Linked DNA regions of Homo sapiens: region 2 is linked to region 1. Evidence: promoter capture Hi-C in human tissues and cell types (Jung and others, 2019). All regions are on one chromosome and are shown on one strand. Each heading gives the region's core, a stretch centred on a gene start or on the middle of the fragment in contact. The rest is flanking DNA. Distances are from core to core; before and after follow the strand shown. Region 1 holds the start of CHST10 (carbohydrate sulfotransferase 10). Region 2 overlaps LONRF2 (LON peptidase N-terminal domain and ring finger 2).

What was found. Contacts are between HindIII fragments. The study calls those that stand out against the background at their distance.
Region 2: a contact is called between a fragment that was not itself captured here and the fragment with the promoter of CHST10 in region 1, in 1 of the 25 tissues and cell types used here (IMR-90 fibroblasts).

The regions. Positions count from the first base shown.
Region 1 is chr2:100,413,918-100,421,077 of GRCh38, reverse strand. CHST10 (carbohydrate sulfotransferase 10) reads left to right here and starts at 3,410. Exons shown (of 7, transcript NM_004854.5): 1 at 3,410-3,704; 2 at 5,967-6,037. RefSeq lists silencers at 3,305-3,754, 3,765-3,914. The HindIII fragment of the contact is 6,609 bases long and covers 1,592-7,160 here.
Region 2 is chr2:100,284,713-100,291,872 of GRCh38, reverse strand. It overlaps LONRF2 (LON peptidase N-terminal domain and ring finger 2), which reads left to right. Exons shown (of 12, transcript NM_198461.4): 10 at 1,453-1,615; 11 at 4,810-4,959. Among named protein-coding and RNA genes, the nearest start is that of LONRF2, 34 kb to the left of the region's middle. RefSeq lists an enhancer at 302-942. The HindIII fragment of the contact is 5,305 bases long and covers 347-5,651 here.

The sequences.
Region 1 (7,160 bases), core at 2,161-4,660:
CTTTATCATGCAGACATGATCCATTATTAACTTAATCTCCAGCCCCTCTCATCTCTCCAGAGGACTGGGTATAGGGCAAAAAATTGGAGGCTTCCATACGAGGCCTGGTTTTTCCAGTGACCAGTCTCCATCTGAAAATATTTAGGGGCCCAGCAAGAGTTGCTTCATTAGAACAAAAGATACTCCTATCACCCAGGAAACTCCAAGGGATTTAAGTGCTTTATGTCAGTGTATTAGTCCATTCTCACACTGCTATGAAAAAATGCCCAAGACTGGGTAATTCATAAAGAAAAGAGGTTTAATTGACTCACAGTTCTACATGGCTGGGGAGGCCTCAGGAAACTTACAATCATTGTGGAAGGCACCTCTTCACAGGGCGGCAGTAGAGAGAATGAGTGCTGAGTGAAGGGGGAAGCCCTTTATAAAACTATCAGATCTTATGAGAACTCACTCACTATCAGGAGAACAGCAGCATGGGGGTAACTGCCCCCAGGATCCAATTACCTCCCACAGGGTCCCTCCCATGACACGTGGGGATGACAGAAACTACAACTGAGATTTAGGTGGGGACACAGCCAAACTGTATCAGTCAGGAACCAGGGTCAAAGGCCAAATACATATTTCTTATTACACTACAACTGGTTGATCACTATACAATATTTTTTTACAACTAGTTGTTAGTACTACTTCTGATCTCATCAGAAAAATCTTTAAATATTGGGAAGCTGTCAAACTTACAGTGATGGATACAGGTTTTGCAAAAGTCTGATTTTTCACTTGAAAGCTTGAATGTTATCACAGACAACAAACACTATCATTTGTTTTTCTTGAAGTGACAGGCCCATGTCATTCATTTTGGAGGAAATGTCTGCCAAATGCCCAAATCTGGGTAACTGCAGTTTGTCTGTCAGTTCTGCTTTCAAGTAAAACTGGCGTTCCATAAAAAAGAGCTGCAGCTTGTGCATTGCAGGCCATTGCACAATGGCACGGCCTTCAGCAACCATCATCCTTGGGATGCAGCAGGATTGTTTCTGTGCATTTCCCACCCTGTCATGAGGGACATGACTGCTTCACGGGGGACATTCTTCAGTGACACTTTGTGTTTGTTTTTACTGCAAGTGCATGGTGGTGAAGGATGCAGTTACTACTGATTTGGTGTTGTCCCACTGCTGGGATTTGTGCTTACTTTTGCACAATCAGAGCAAATGTCTACATTGTAAAGAGGACAAATAATGTCCCAGTTCAACTATGAAAACAGTTTTGTCATTGCAGATCCTCTGAAAGGATCTTGGAGACTCCTAAAGATCCACTTTTTGGAGATCACTCTTTGCGAACTGCTATTTTAGAAACAATCCTCCTGCTACAAAGACTAAATATTTGGCTCACACGTGTAATCCCAGCACTTTGGGAGGCTGAGGCGGGTGGATAACTTGAGGTCAGGAGTTTGAGACCAGCCTGGCTAACATGGTGAAACCCCGTCTCTACTAAAAATACAAAAATTAGCCGGGTGTGGTGGCACGCACCTGTAATTCCAGCTACTTGAGAGACTGAGACAGGAGAATCACTTGAACCCAGGAGGCAGAGGTTGCAGTGAGCTGGGATGGCACCACTGCACTCCAACCTGGGCGACAGAGCGAGATTCCGTCTCAAAAAAAAAAAAAAGACTAAATACTAATATTTTCCTAGACATTCATTTATAGGAAAAAAAGAGGAACTATTTTGAAAAACTCCAACAAAAAAAACCAAAAAACCTCAGTTACCTTAGTTGTCAATGTGTAAGCCTCTAGAACAAACTCCATCTTTTAAAGTTTTGAACAGTATCTTGGGAATGCAGTAATAACAGTGACAATAGTGTGTGTTTGTTGCAGTGTTTACTACTGCGGGATGACTGTGCTTTGTATTTTAAATGCATCCTCTACAATATTCTTTAGTACCACACTTTTTTTTTTTTTTTTGAAGGAGTTTCACTCTTGTTGCCCAGGCTGGAGTGCAGTGGCGAGATCTCGACTCACCGCAACCTCCGCCTCCTGGGTTCAAGCAATTCTCCTGCCTCAGTCTCCCGAGCAGCTGGGATTACAGGCACGTGCCCCCACTCCTGGCTAATTTTTTTTGTAGTTTTATTAGAGACAGGGTTTCTCCATGTTGGTCATGCTGGTCTCGAACTCCCGACCTCAGGTGATCCACCTACCTCCGCCTCTCAAAATGTTGGGATTACAGGCGTGAGCCACCACGCCCGGCCTAGTACCACATTCTGTAGATGAGAAGACTGGGACACAGAGAGATGAGAGTGTGACAAGGTCAACAGTCATATGCAGTGACTAAGGCTCTGAATCCACGTGGTCTGATTCCCAGAGCCTTGATCCTTAAATCCTGCATAATATGCTGCATCACATCCAAGCTTCACATTTACTTACTTCTTTTCTGCCGTGCACGTGTATCGATTCAAATCCTCAAAGGGAAACCCAATGTCTCATCTCAACCACAGGGCCCCAAAAAAGGGCTCAGTAAACGTCTTCTGCATGAGGGACAGAACCTTTAAACCATGATTAGTAATGGGGCTAGAAGTGAAATACTCAAACAGCCAGCTCCCTCAATATTATTAACTCATTAAGGAGGGAACCAATAAAAAAGAAAAAAAACAAAAACAAAAACGCTTGTTCCTTGAAAGCTTTGAAAAATTGTGTGTGTGTGTGTGTGTGTGTGTATACATACACGTATCTATTTTACTTGTTTGCTAAATAGACACAGATATAGTCGGGTAGTTAACAAACATGTAGGTTGTATAAAAATAAAACTAGTTTATCTTCTTTGGGGCAATAAAATCCCAATACCTTTGAGGTTGACTCAGGCCTTATCCATTTCTGCAGGTTAAGAAGTTACAATTCTTCAGGTCTGTAAACTGGTCAGGCCGTTATCATTGTCCTTCGTTAATCCACTGTACCTAGACAACAGTTACATCCCCAACCCGGACAGCCAAGGGGGTTCTTTAAAGAATAGAACGTCCCCCTTTTACTAAGTAGGCTTATTAGAAAATGCTAGAAGTTACCCTTAACGCAAGCAAGTGGCCTTTTTCCAAGTTGGGGATTTAAGAAATTTACTTATCTATTTTTTGTATTTTTCCAAGGTGGTTTTGTGTGTGTGTGTGACTTTGTTGTTGTTTTGGTTTGGTTTTTTGCCTTTTTCCAAGTTTGGGATTTTTTTTCTTTCTCAAAAAGCGAACCTGTTTTCTGGATGGAGGCCCAGCGGGACTTGTTCCGGCCGCAGGTCTCGGTCAGAAAGAACGCTTTTGCAGCGGCAGAAAGGGAGACTCGGGATCCGGGCCTGGGGTCCCGCGGCCGCGCCCCTCCCCACTCCCCGCGACCCGCTGGAACGCGCACGGCCGGGGACGGCGGCGGGGACGCGCGCGGGCAGGCGGCGCGCACGGCCGGATAGGCGCGAGGGGGCCGCGTGAGGCGGTGCCGGCGTTCTGGCCCCCAAAGCCGGTCTAGCGCGCCGGGCGTCTTCCTTACTTCCGCTGCCGCCGCCGCCACATCCCGGGACCCGACGGGCCGCGGCGCGGAGGCCTCGGGGCAAGGTGGGGCGGGCCTCCCGAGCTCCCAGGACCCCGCGCGCTTCGCCCACAGGCCCGGCGAAGCCCGACCCGCGCGGCGCCCCCAGGGCCAGGGGAGGAGCCTAAGGACCCGGACGAGCGCCGCTCCAGTAGGGTGAGCTCGGGGACGCGCAGGCGGGTGGGTTTCAGCGCCTGGGCCCCTCTCCCCGCCGCGGGGCGCACGGAAAAACCGGGGAACCCGCGGGTTTTGTCCTGGCGAGCCACATCCCGGTGTGTTTTGGCGACTTGAAGACCTCCCTAGTTCGCGGGAGTAGCGGGAAGAGCCTTCCTCGCGTTAATTATGCAATAAGAAGGCGTCCTTGTGCGGGATGCTGTGACCCGCGGAATTATTGATATTGTGCGAGCCTACAATTTACTTCTTTCATCCTTGGCTGAGAATTTGCGTTTGTAATTGTAGATGGAGAGAGGAAGAAAGGGTTCAGCTTGGGTCCAAGGAGCATGCAGAGGAAGGCAGGGAAGAAGGAGCATGTGCAGCTTCGGTGCGAGGGGAGTCAGGGGTGGGAATGCACGTTCCCTGCCTGAGGGGCCCCGGGGTGCCCTGAGCCTCTGATCTTCGCTGTCAGGAGGCCTGTCCGAAGTTGGAGGTTGAGGCATGCAGTTCTGCACTTCTGGCTGGGAAGGTGAACCAGGTTTTCCAAAATGTCATTTTTGCTTTCCAAGTCTGCAAGGCAGGAAAGGGTTGGGCAGTGAATGGAAAGTAGTGCAGCCAGGTTCTGGTTAGCTCAGCGGCAGGACTGTCATAACGGTGGGTTTTTGTTGTTGTTGTTGTTGTTGTTGTTTTGTCTGAAAACCAGAGTCTGGGGCTTTGGGCCATGAGGAGTTGGGTTATTGCATTGCTTAGAGTGCCAGAGTGAGAAATGTCTCAGACGCTGTTAAAATTAGGCAGCTCAGTTTAGCTCTGGCTCTCTGATAACCAACCACCTCCTCCTTCACTCTTTTCAGTGACTGGGTTAAAATGAAAAGACACAAAGAGAGAAGTGGTCTTTTCCCTTCCCTCCCCATTATAATTAAGAGCTTAGTCCATCTTGGCTCAGAATTGGAATTCAGAATTCAGAATTGCTCTTGACCCTGAAGAATAGAATCTCAAAGAAATACCTGAGCAGAAAATTCTCTTCTTCGCTGAAATGAAAATTGGAGTGTTTGCAAAACTGAACAAAGAAAGGAAAGAATTTGTAAACATCACAGGCAACTTGCAGTTATATTCGGATCATTTTTCAGTGTTTGAGGAGTTCATACAATAAAAAGGTGAGAGAGAGCCAGGAATAGAAACAGGGGAGAGAGGTGGTTGCAGGACCTTAGAGATTGCAGAAACCCAGGAGTTCATTTTCTTTTCATACACTTCTGGATAACCTGGATGTGAGGACCATCAAATGCCGTACATGATGTTTCTAACAATGATGGACCACATATACAACAGTGGTCCCATAAGACTATACTACCTTATTTTTACTCTACCTTTTCTAATTTTAGATACACAAATACTTACCATTGTATTACAGATGCTTACAGTATTCAGTACAGTAACAGCAGTACAAGTTAGTAGCCCGGGAGCAATAGATGATTCCATATAGCCTAGGTGTGTGGTCAGCTGTACCATATAGCCTAGGTGTGTGGTTAGCTGTACTATCTAGGTTTATGTAAGAACGCTCTGATGTTTGCAGAAGAACATCGCCTAACGATACATTTCTCAGAAGGTATCCCTATTGTTAAGTGATGAATGACTGTATATAAAGCTTAATCTTTCAATCAACATAATAGGAAATTGCTTTTAATTTTAGCATTGAGTTCTTAGAGTAAAGGGAGGCAGAGAGAGACCGTGCTGCATGTGTCCCAGTCAGCTTGGGCTTTATTGTATGTTAAATGAGTTGTATGTTTATTTTGGTAGATCTCCTAAATCCATGATCTAATTCCATGACTTTGGCTTGTTTCTGGTTTTTTATGATATGGCATTTGGCTAAAATTTTCCAGGTGCTAAAGGTGTAAGGAGTACGAAAATCCAGAGAACATTTTGCATTGGAAGAATTGATCATCTTGTATAGGAATCCTATAACTATTTCAAACATACGAAACAGGCATAATTGGATTTGATTATTTTTGCTACAAAAAATGTTTCATTTTTCACACTAAGTTACATGGAAGAGTCTTTTAAACAGCTAGTGGTTTTGGTACATTTAGAATATTCATTTACCAAGAAATCCAAATATAACCTGCCTTTGTAAGAGACCCATTCTGCCAAATATATTTGAATCATCAAAATGGTTCACTATTTCCTTCCTAAGTATAAACCAAGTTGTATTAAGTAAGTTGATCTTGTAACTTTTAATAATGCTTTTTTTTTTTTAATTTTCCTATCCAGTGACAAGAGGAACCAAGAACCTCAGTTCAGGGGAAACACAGCAAGGAAATGTGAGCCCCAGGCTGCAGAAGGTACGTGAAGGAGAATGTGAGCTCATCAGTTATTTGAGCATGCCATTCAGTATTGTTCCTGCCTTTTTTCTTGCCTGTGCAGATTGTAAACTCTTGATTAGGAGTATGTAAATGTGTGCTTAGAAACGTTTCCTTAAATATAATAATAGGAGCATGCTCTGAGGCTGGGATTATGTGAGTTAGTACCTGCTGAGACCTGTGCTTGGTACAGAGTGAACCCCATACAGGTGTTTACTGTATATTATTATTATTGTTCATGAAAACCTGTCTTAACTACAGGTGTATTTCTCACTGGACAGTTAAGAGTGTTTTCATTCTCCTAACTAAGGGTGGTTAATCGTTCCAAGGCGGTAAATTGTAAGGATGACAACAGAGAAGACAAAGGAAATTTCTGTACGCAGATTGAGAGAAACCTTTACTATGAATTTGAAAGTCTCAGTGACATGCAATAGAACTTTATAGTATAAATTCATATGCCACACTTTGCATTATGGAGTTGTAATTTAATGATTCTATTGATAGGGTAATGCATTGTAGTTCAGAATGTGCTCAGGGTTGATGGTGAAATGTCCCCGTTTCTGCAGCCCTGGTCTGTCTAGTTCTCATCTCACCTGTCATCCTCCTGGGGTTACCAGTTCCTTGTACATTACCAGGTTTTTGTGTGTGTGTGTGTGTGTGAAGTTTCCTTTAGAGTCTGGCTGTGTTTTAAAAGTTGAGCCCTGGACATGTGATCCCTGGTATGTGTATGAGGTGAGGTTGTCAGTAAAGGGCCATTGACAGGCCTCCTCATCTGACCCACCCCTGTCCCTGCTTGCCCACTCTGCATGAGGAACACTGGCCTTCTTGCCACTTTTGGAATTCTGGGACCCAGACCACAGTCTTTGCCCAGGGGTCTGCATGGCTTGCTCCCACAATCTGTCCTGCCTTTTCTCAACATCCTGCCCATGCCCTTGTTTATTAGCCACTGCACCTGTCACCTGGCTTGATCATATACATTGATCACTTGATTTGTTTATGGCCCGTCTATGTCTGTTAGTAGGAAGCACTGTGAGAGCAGGGAATGTGTGTTGCTATATCCCCAGGGCCTAGAACAGCCCCGGCTCAGAGGAGGGCTTTGGTAAAT
Region 2 (7,160 bases), core at 1,750-4,249, 130 kb after region 1:
AGCGTGAGAACATCACTAGGTTACGGGTGATAGTTACAGTCAGAGTGTGGGTAAGAGCTGGGGAGAGCTTTGGAATGAGAATAGACATAGCCTAGAATACCACCCTGGGCAGCATGGAGCAGGAGGGACATGCAGAGGTAGGGGCTGTGAAGGGCCGGGCTGGTTAGAGAGGGTTCAGGAGAGCAGAAGCATTAGCTCAGCAACAGTCTGCAGGGCCGTGCCTTAGGGAGGTCAGACAGGAGCCTGTCAAGTGATTTGAGCAATTCAGAGGGCATCTCTGACTTCTTTTGGAGTCATTTTAATGGAACGGTAGGATATGGAGGAGTGAGGGGGAGGCAAGGAGATGAAGGCAGTGGCCGGGGACTGCTTTCCACGGCACTTTGGTTGGGGAGGGCAGAGCTGGCAGAATTGGAATGAGGTGAAGACCTTGTGGGCGAAGGCAGGAGGGAGGAGGAGCGGAGTGCCTTTGAAGGTGGAGGACTTGCTGCCCCAGCAACCAGCACCAGCAGAGGCCTCCAGATAAACGTCAGCTCCTCCAAGCCTGCCTCACTGCAGGGCATGACTCATCAAGGAGGCTCTTATCTGTGGACAGGATCCTGTGTGTGATGCAAACTCCCTTTGTGAGTGCAGCTCTCCAGACCTGCACTCTGGTGCCAGCCCACACAAGGTCATTGGCAATTTGTTTAAAAAAAAAATAGCTGAATGCTTCCTACACACTTTTGTGTCTCTTCCTGGGTTCTGCCTACTCTCTCCCTGTGGGATCTTTGTTTGGTTACCCTGAGCAATCTCCACCCTCTGGTGGGTTCAAGAGACATATGTTTTGTGGTTTATCTGGTTTTCCTTGTCGTTTTTCACATTCTTTTTAGTGTTCTATATTCTCAGTGCACATGGAACTCATAGCTTGTTTTTTCACTTTGTTGACTTTTGATGAATCAAATTTTAAGTGTGGGCTTGAATTCATATGTATTATAAACTGCTCCGTGTGTTGCTTGGCACGTGGTAGCATGAGAATATCACTAGGATAAGGGTGATAGTTACAATCGGAGTGTGGGTAAGAGCTGGGGAGAGCTTTGGAAAGCCGAGTGTGTGCGTGGCACCAGCTGGGCAGTCCTGATGGTGCCCCGCCAAGGTGGCTGAGGAGCCACATTTGAGATTTCATCTCTTCCCATCTCTCGGGTCCTTCCCAAAACACTAGCCCGTTGGAACCGCTAAGGCACAAGTCCTGTCTCACCTGGAGCCCTTCCCCTGCAGCCACCATCACCACTATATTTAACATCTAACAGAAGCGACCATGTGCACGTGTCTCTTAGCGACAATAACCTTGCTGGTCTGATGTGGAGACACTGTTTTGTGTGGCTTTGTATTCCTTTTAAAAGTAAACTCTCATCCAGGGAAAAAGAAGGCCCCCTGCATTTTAAAAATCACAGTCATTTCTCCTAACTGTCTTTTCAGGCTTTCAGAGTATGGATGCATGCTGGAGATTAAGGACGTGAGAACGTTTCCTGATGGAAGTTCTGTTGTAGACGCGATTGGCATCAGTCGGTTCCGAGTGCTAAGCCACCGCCACAGAGATGGCTATAACACAGCGGACATTGAATATCTTGAAGATGAAAAGGTAAGGCTTATCATACTGGTGTATTTTATAGCAGTCGGTCCTCTCGCTTCCCTTTGCATTGTGGAAAAGCTTTGTCAAACTTGTACTGACAATATTACTTAAGTCCTTAATTCATCACTTAAGTTATTTATTTATCTATTTGTTTATTTTTGAGTCAAGGTCTTGTTCTGTCGTGCAGGCTAGAGTGCAGCAGCATGATCTTGGCCCACTGCAGCCTTGACCTCCCAGGCTCAAACGATCCTCCTGCTTTAGCCTCCCGAGTAGCTGGGACTGTAGGTGCACACCACCACACATGGCTAATTTAAATTTTGTTTGTCGTTGAAACAGAGTCTCCCTGTGTTTCCCAGGCTGGTCTCAAACTCCTGGGCTCAAGCAGTCCTCCCACCTCAACCAAAGTGTAGTAGCCCCAAAGTGCTGTGACTACAGGCATGAGCCCCTGCCTTCAGCAGTTATTTATTTTCTCAGTGGATTTTTACCTGAGTTGGGAGCTGGTACAGAAATCTCCTTTTAAAAAAATGATCTGGCCAGGCATGGTGGCTCACGCCTGTAATCCCAGCACTTTGGGAGGCCAAGGTGGGCAGGTCACGAGGTCAGGAGATTGAGACCATCCTGGCTAATACGGTGAAACCCTGGCTCTATTAAAAATATAAAAAAATTAACCATGTGTGGTGGCGGGCACCTGTAGTCCCAGCTACTTGGGAGGCTGAGGCAGGAGAATTGCTTGAACCTGGGAGCTGAAGGTTGCAGTGAGCTGAGATCGTGCCACTGCACTCCAGCCTGGGCGACAGAGCAAGACTCCATCTCAAAAAAAAAAAAAAAAAAAAAAAGACCTTATTGTACTTATGCAACATGTAAACCTGCGCATTGCAAAATAGGCTTTTGATTTGTATTTGATGCTGTAGCCCTGGAGCTGGCAAACTTTTTCTGTAAAGGGCCGGCTAATAAGTACTTTAGACTCCAGAGGCCATGTGGTCTCTGTCGAAGCTACCCAGTTCTGCCCTTGTAGTGCAAAAGCAGCCATAGACAATGTGTAAAGGCATGAGCATGACTGGTTTCCGTTAAATGTGACTTCCGGAAACATGGTGGTGAGCACGGTTTGACTCATGAACAGCAGTCTGTCAGTCCCTGTTCTCTAGGTTGGTATTAATTCAGAATGTGACAAAATCTACAACTTAAAAAATACCTCCCAAAGCTAAATATAAAAGACTTGAATTTATTAACCCTTAAGAATTTTTTCATGTGTCTAATAGAAATATCAGGACATATAATTTGACAAATTAGCAAAATGTTTTGAGAGATTCTCCAACAGACTTACACAAGGATGTCCATAACAGTCTTACTCCATTATAGCCCCAAACCAGGAACAGCCCAGGTGCTGATCACACTTGAGTCAGTAAACACATTGTGGTCCATTCATGCAATGGAATACTACCTGTCAATAAAAAGAAATGAACCACTCGTGCATGAAACAATATGGATGACTCTCACAGACATTATGCTAAGTGAGAGAAGCCAGACACAGGACGAACACATACCGCGTGGCTTCATCTGTATACTTCCAGGAACAGGCAAAACTAGAGTCTGGGGACAGAAGTCAGAAAAGGCTTGTGGGGTTGGCTTTGTAATTGACTGGAGGGAGTGGTGAAGAATCTTTCTAAGTAGTGGAAATGTCTATCTGGTTTTGGGTGATGGTCAGACTGGTGTATACAGTTGAGAAAACTCTTTGAGCTCAACAAGATCTATGCACTTTTTGGTCTGTAAATTATACTGCAGCAAGAAATTTTAAAATACTTAAAAGGAGGAAATCCTTGGAATTATTGTATCCCTCTTTTAAATTCTTTGGTTGACATTTGGAATTGTGGAAGTGAGGGTACGTAGCCACCCCACATCACACTGGAAGTCATTTTGGGGGCAGTGGTGTACACTTAGGATTTGTGAATGGAGTCACACCCAGGACACTGTCTCTGTGCCTCCTCCAGCTGCTGTTTCTGGTCATCCCAGTGCATGGGAGCAGAGCAGGGAGCCCAGCTCCCAGGCTGGACCAGAAAGCTGGGTTTCAAAGCTACAGCTGAAAGTGATAATTCTCAGGGTCTCTCTGTGGGATGGATAGACCTGACGGCAGGGTTTATTGACCGTTGTTGTAGATGACAGCTTTTAATAGTGTATGCGCTTATTTTAAATGGGGGCTTAAATAGCTACAACATGAAATAATTTTAGCTTATTTTTATAAGAAAATCCTCTATCACATATGAATATTTGATTTGTATAAATCAAATTGAGGGTGGTATATGCATTATATTATAATTTCTCAGCACACCGTAGTTTTTGTAGGTACTGGAATTTTGTAACAGGAAAGGACCTTCATGGTTTATTCCTATTATGCAGATGAGAAAACTCTGCCCTAACGAGGCTGTGAGACTGGCTAGATTCACACATGAGAGTTGGTGATGAAGCCAGACCAAACCCTGGCCCCGTGATTCCCAGTCCCATGCTCTTCCTCCTCTACCAGGTGTTCCTGAACAGGACTGAGGCGTAATTTAAATGACAGATGTGATAGTGACATAGGGACCAGAGGCCAAGCTTGGTCAGTCTAAGGTGCTGTGGCCGACCACAAGCTGGAGTCCATCAGCCCAGGCCAATGTAATGAGTGTAGTCTTGCCCTGTCGTGCCTTTAGGAATATAGTTTGGTGATATGGAATACAATTTTTAAAATGTCACCCTTTGACTTGGTAATTCTGTCAAGGTCTCTAGGAAACTACACTGAGGAAACCATACCTCCCTCCCTTGTCAAAAAAGCAAAACAAAACAAAACAACTTTTCCATAAATGTTTATATTATTGTGTTATTTTTAAAAATAAAAAAGCTAGAATATTCTAAATAACTTACGTGAATAGTTAAGTAAATTGGCATGTATCTCAAATATATAATTGCATGCAGCCATTGAACATTATTCAAAATTACAGGAAATGTGCTTATATTATGGTATTAAGAGAAAAATCAGGATACAATTGATAGATTTCAACTATGCAAAAAATGCAGATTTCTATATTGAGCATGTACCATTTTTGTGAAACTGATGAATTATTAAAATGCTAACTGCCACAAATCCACTTAGTGGAGGTGCAGAGGTCGCTGACTGTGTTACGTGCATTACTGTGAATGGTTCACACAGCTGTGCCTCTTTCCCTGATCAGGTGGAGGGTCCAGAGTATGAAGAACTTGCCGCTCTCCACGATTCTGTGCATCAACAGTCTGTTTCCTGGTTCGCGTCTCTCCAGGATCGCATGAAAGAACAAATTTTAAGTCATTTTGGGGTAATGCCAGACAGAGAACCTGAGCCTCAGGTATGCCCTCCCTTTTTCCTTTATAATTCTGTTACTTCCTGCTGTAGTGTGCTGAGCCATCATTCTGGTGGAGAGCTTGGCAGTATGATGCTGGTTACCCCAATGTGGTTGCTTATGAACCAGTTCATCTACTAACAGCCCAAAGGAGCACCTACTGTGGTAGCACATGACTTGTGAAGCAAAACAACAAAGGCTCTCTAACAGAACATAATTTCTTTTCTAACAACAATCAGTTTATTCTGCTTGGCTGTCAGCTTTTGTAGCCTTTTGCTTCTTTCACTCACATCTTAAAATTTAAGTAGTAACTTTATTGTATTGGCATGAACATTCCACGTTTGGCGCATAGCATTGCCTTGCACCTGGTATAGAGATGTTGAATAAGTGAAGAGAAAAATCCCATCATTCTTGTGACATTAGTAGCGTGACTTCCTTGTCCTCTAAGTACCCTGCTGCCCAGCTGTCATGGGCTTTCTCTGGTGCTCCCTACAAGTACTTTTGGTGAAGCTGGTTCTTTAAGCAATGAATGAGCTTAGGTTTGTGGAGCATTTCTAAGCTCAGGTGGGCCTCTCCTCTGCATTAGATGGGAGAGCCAGGCTGGGCTGGTTTAAGATTGTGCCTGAGAGTGTATACCTCCCACCTGTACATGGATGCTCAGCTGTCAAAGACAGTAGGGGAGGGGGATTGGCTCTCAGCTGGTTTAGGGTGATGTGAAAGGTCTTTTCCCATCCATTTTAACTTTTTTTTTCTGTCTCTTGGAGCTTCTATCTTTTACCCCCTGCCTGAATTCTTTTTTTTTCCAAACACAGAAAAATGCTTTAACTGCCAGAAATTGCCATTAAGTCCTTCCTGGCTTGCCCTTTTTGCATAAGCCTTTGTTCTGCAGTATCCTGGAACTCAGATTCAGAAAGCATGGTGGTTACACTGACTTGCATTAGGATATGAGTCATTCTTTTTCCTAGGAGTTGTTGTTTATTAACCAAATTAATCAATCTCTACTTGGCGGGTATATTAGCTTCCTACTACTGCTGTTAAGAAATTTCACGAACGTGGTGGCTTAAAACAACACATATGTATTATCTTTCACTCCTGGTTCTGCAGGCCAGACTATGATCAGGGTGATGGCAGCATGCGTTTCTCTTTGGAGGTTGTGGGGGAGAGTCTGTTTCCTTGTCTCTGCAGCTTGTAGAGGCTGGCGGCATTCCTCGGCTTCCTTCCTCCATCAGAGCCAGCAATGTTGCTTCTCTCCGACCGTTCTTCCAAAGCCACATGTCCCTCTGACCACAGCCCAGACAGGACCCTATATGAACACATTGGGCCCATCAGGATAATCCCCCCATCCCAAAGTCCTTAACTGAATCACATCCTCCAATTCCCTCTGCCATATAAGGTACCATATGGGGGACCATTTTTCTCATGACTACAGAGGGATTTTAGGTAATACATCAATTTTTATATGAGGTCCTTCCCATTAAGCGTGCTACTCAGTTTTTTTCTTTCTCTGTGAGATGAGGCAGGGAAAAGAGTGTGAATCTGTATAAAAGGTTGTTTTCTCCATCTGTGCCTTTCTACCTCTGAAGGGCAGGTTGATGTCTTCCTCACAGTGACTTGGGCTACCCCTGGTGAGCTTTGGCCACAGTGCTATTCCTAGTCCTCCAGCATAATCTACCTCACCCTAAACTAAGGTGACTCCAGAGTTCACCCTCCCAGCTCTTATCGGCATCCTGCACATTTTTGGAGAAGGAATAGAGTGAAGAATCCTAGACCCTGGAAACAAAAAGGCCTGGATATCTTGGTTCCAGTACTAAGAATATTGAGAACGAGTTTATGATCGGCTTTTGCCTAGCACTTAGTCTAGAAGTGCTTTGTTTGATTATGTGAAATAAAGGTTATTTGGTGGCATAATAATTCTTATATATATAATTTATGATAACTCTTGCATATGACATGCATACATATATATGTTTCATACATACACTCATTTGCCACATTGAGTATGTCACTCAAACTTGTACACATACTTTTAGCCTTTATAATATTATGCTTTATATGGCATGCTTAAGACATAAAAAATAATAGCACAGAACATTGGAAAGTGAAGGTTAAAGTGATAGTATTCTCCTCTGACTGGTATATACTCTTAACTGAAAGCTTGAGAGAACAGAAGCAACTAATTCATAGAATCTCCCCATGGAAGATGCTTC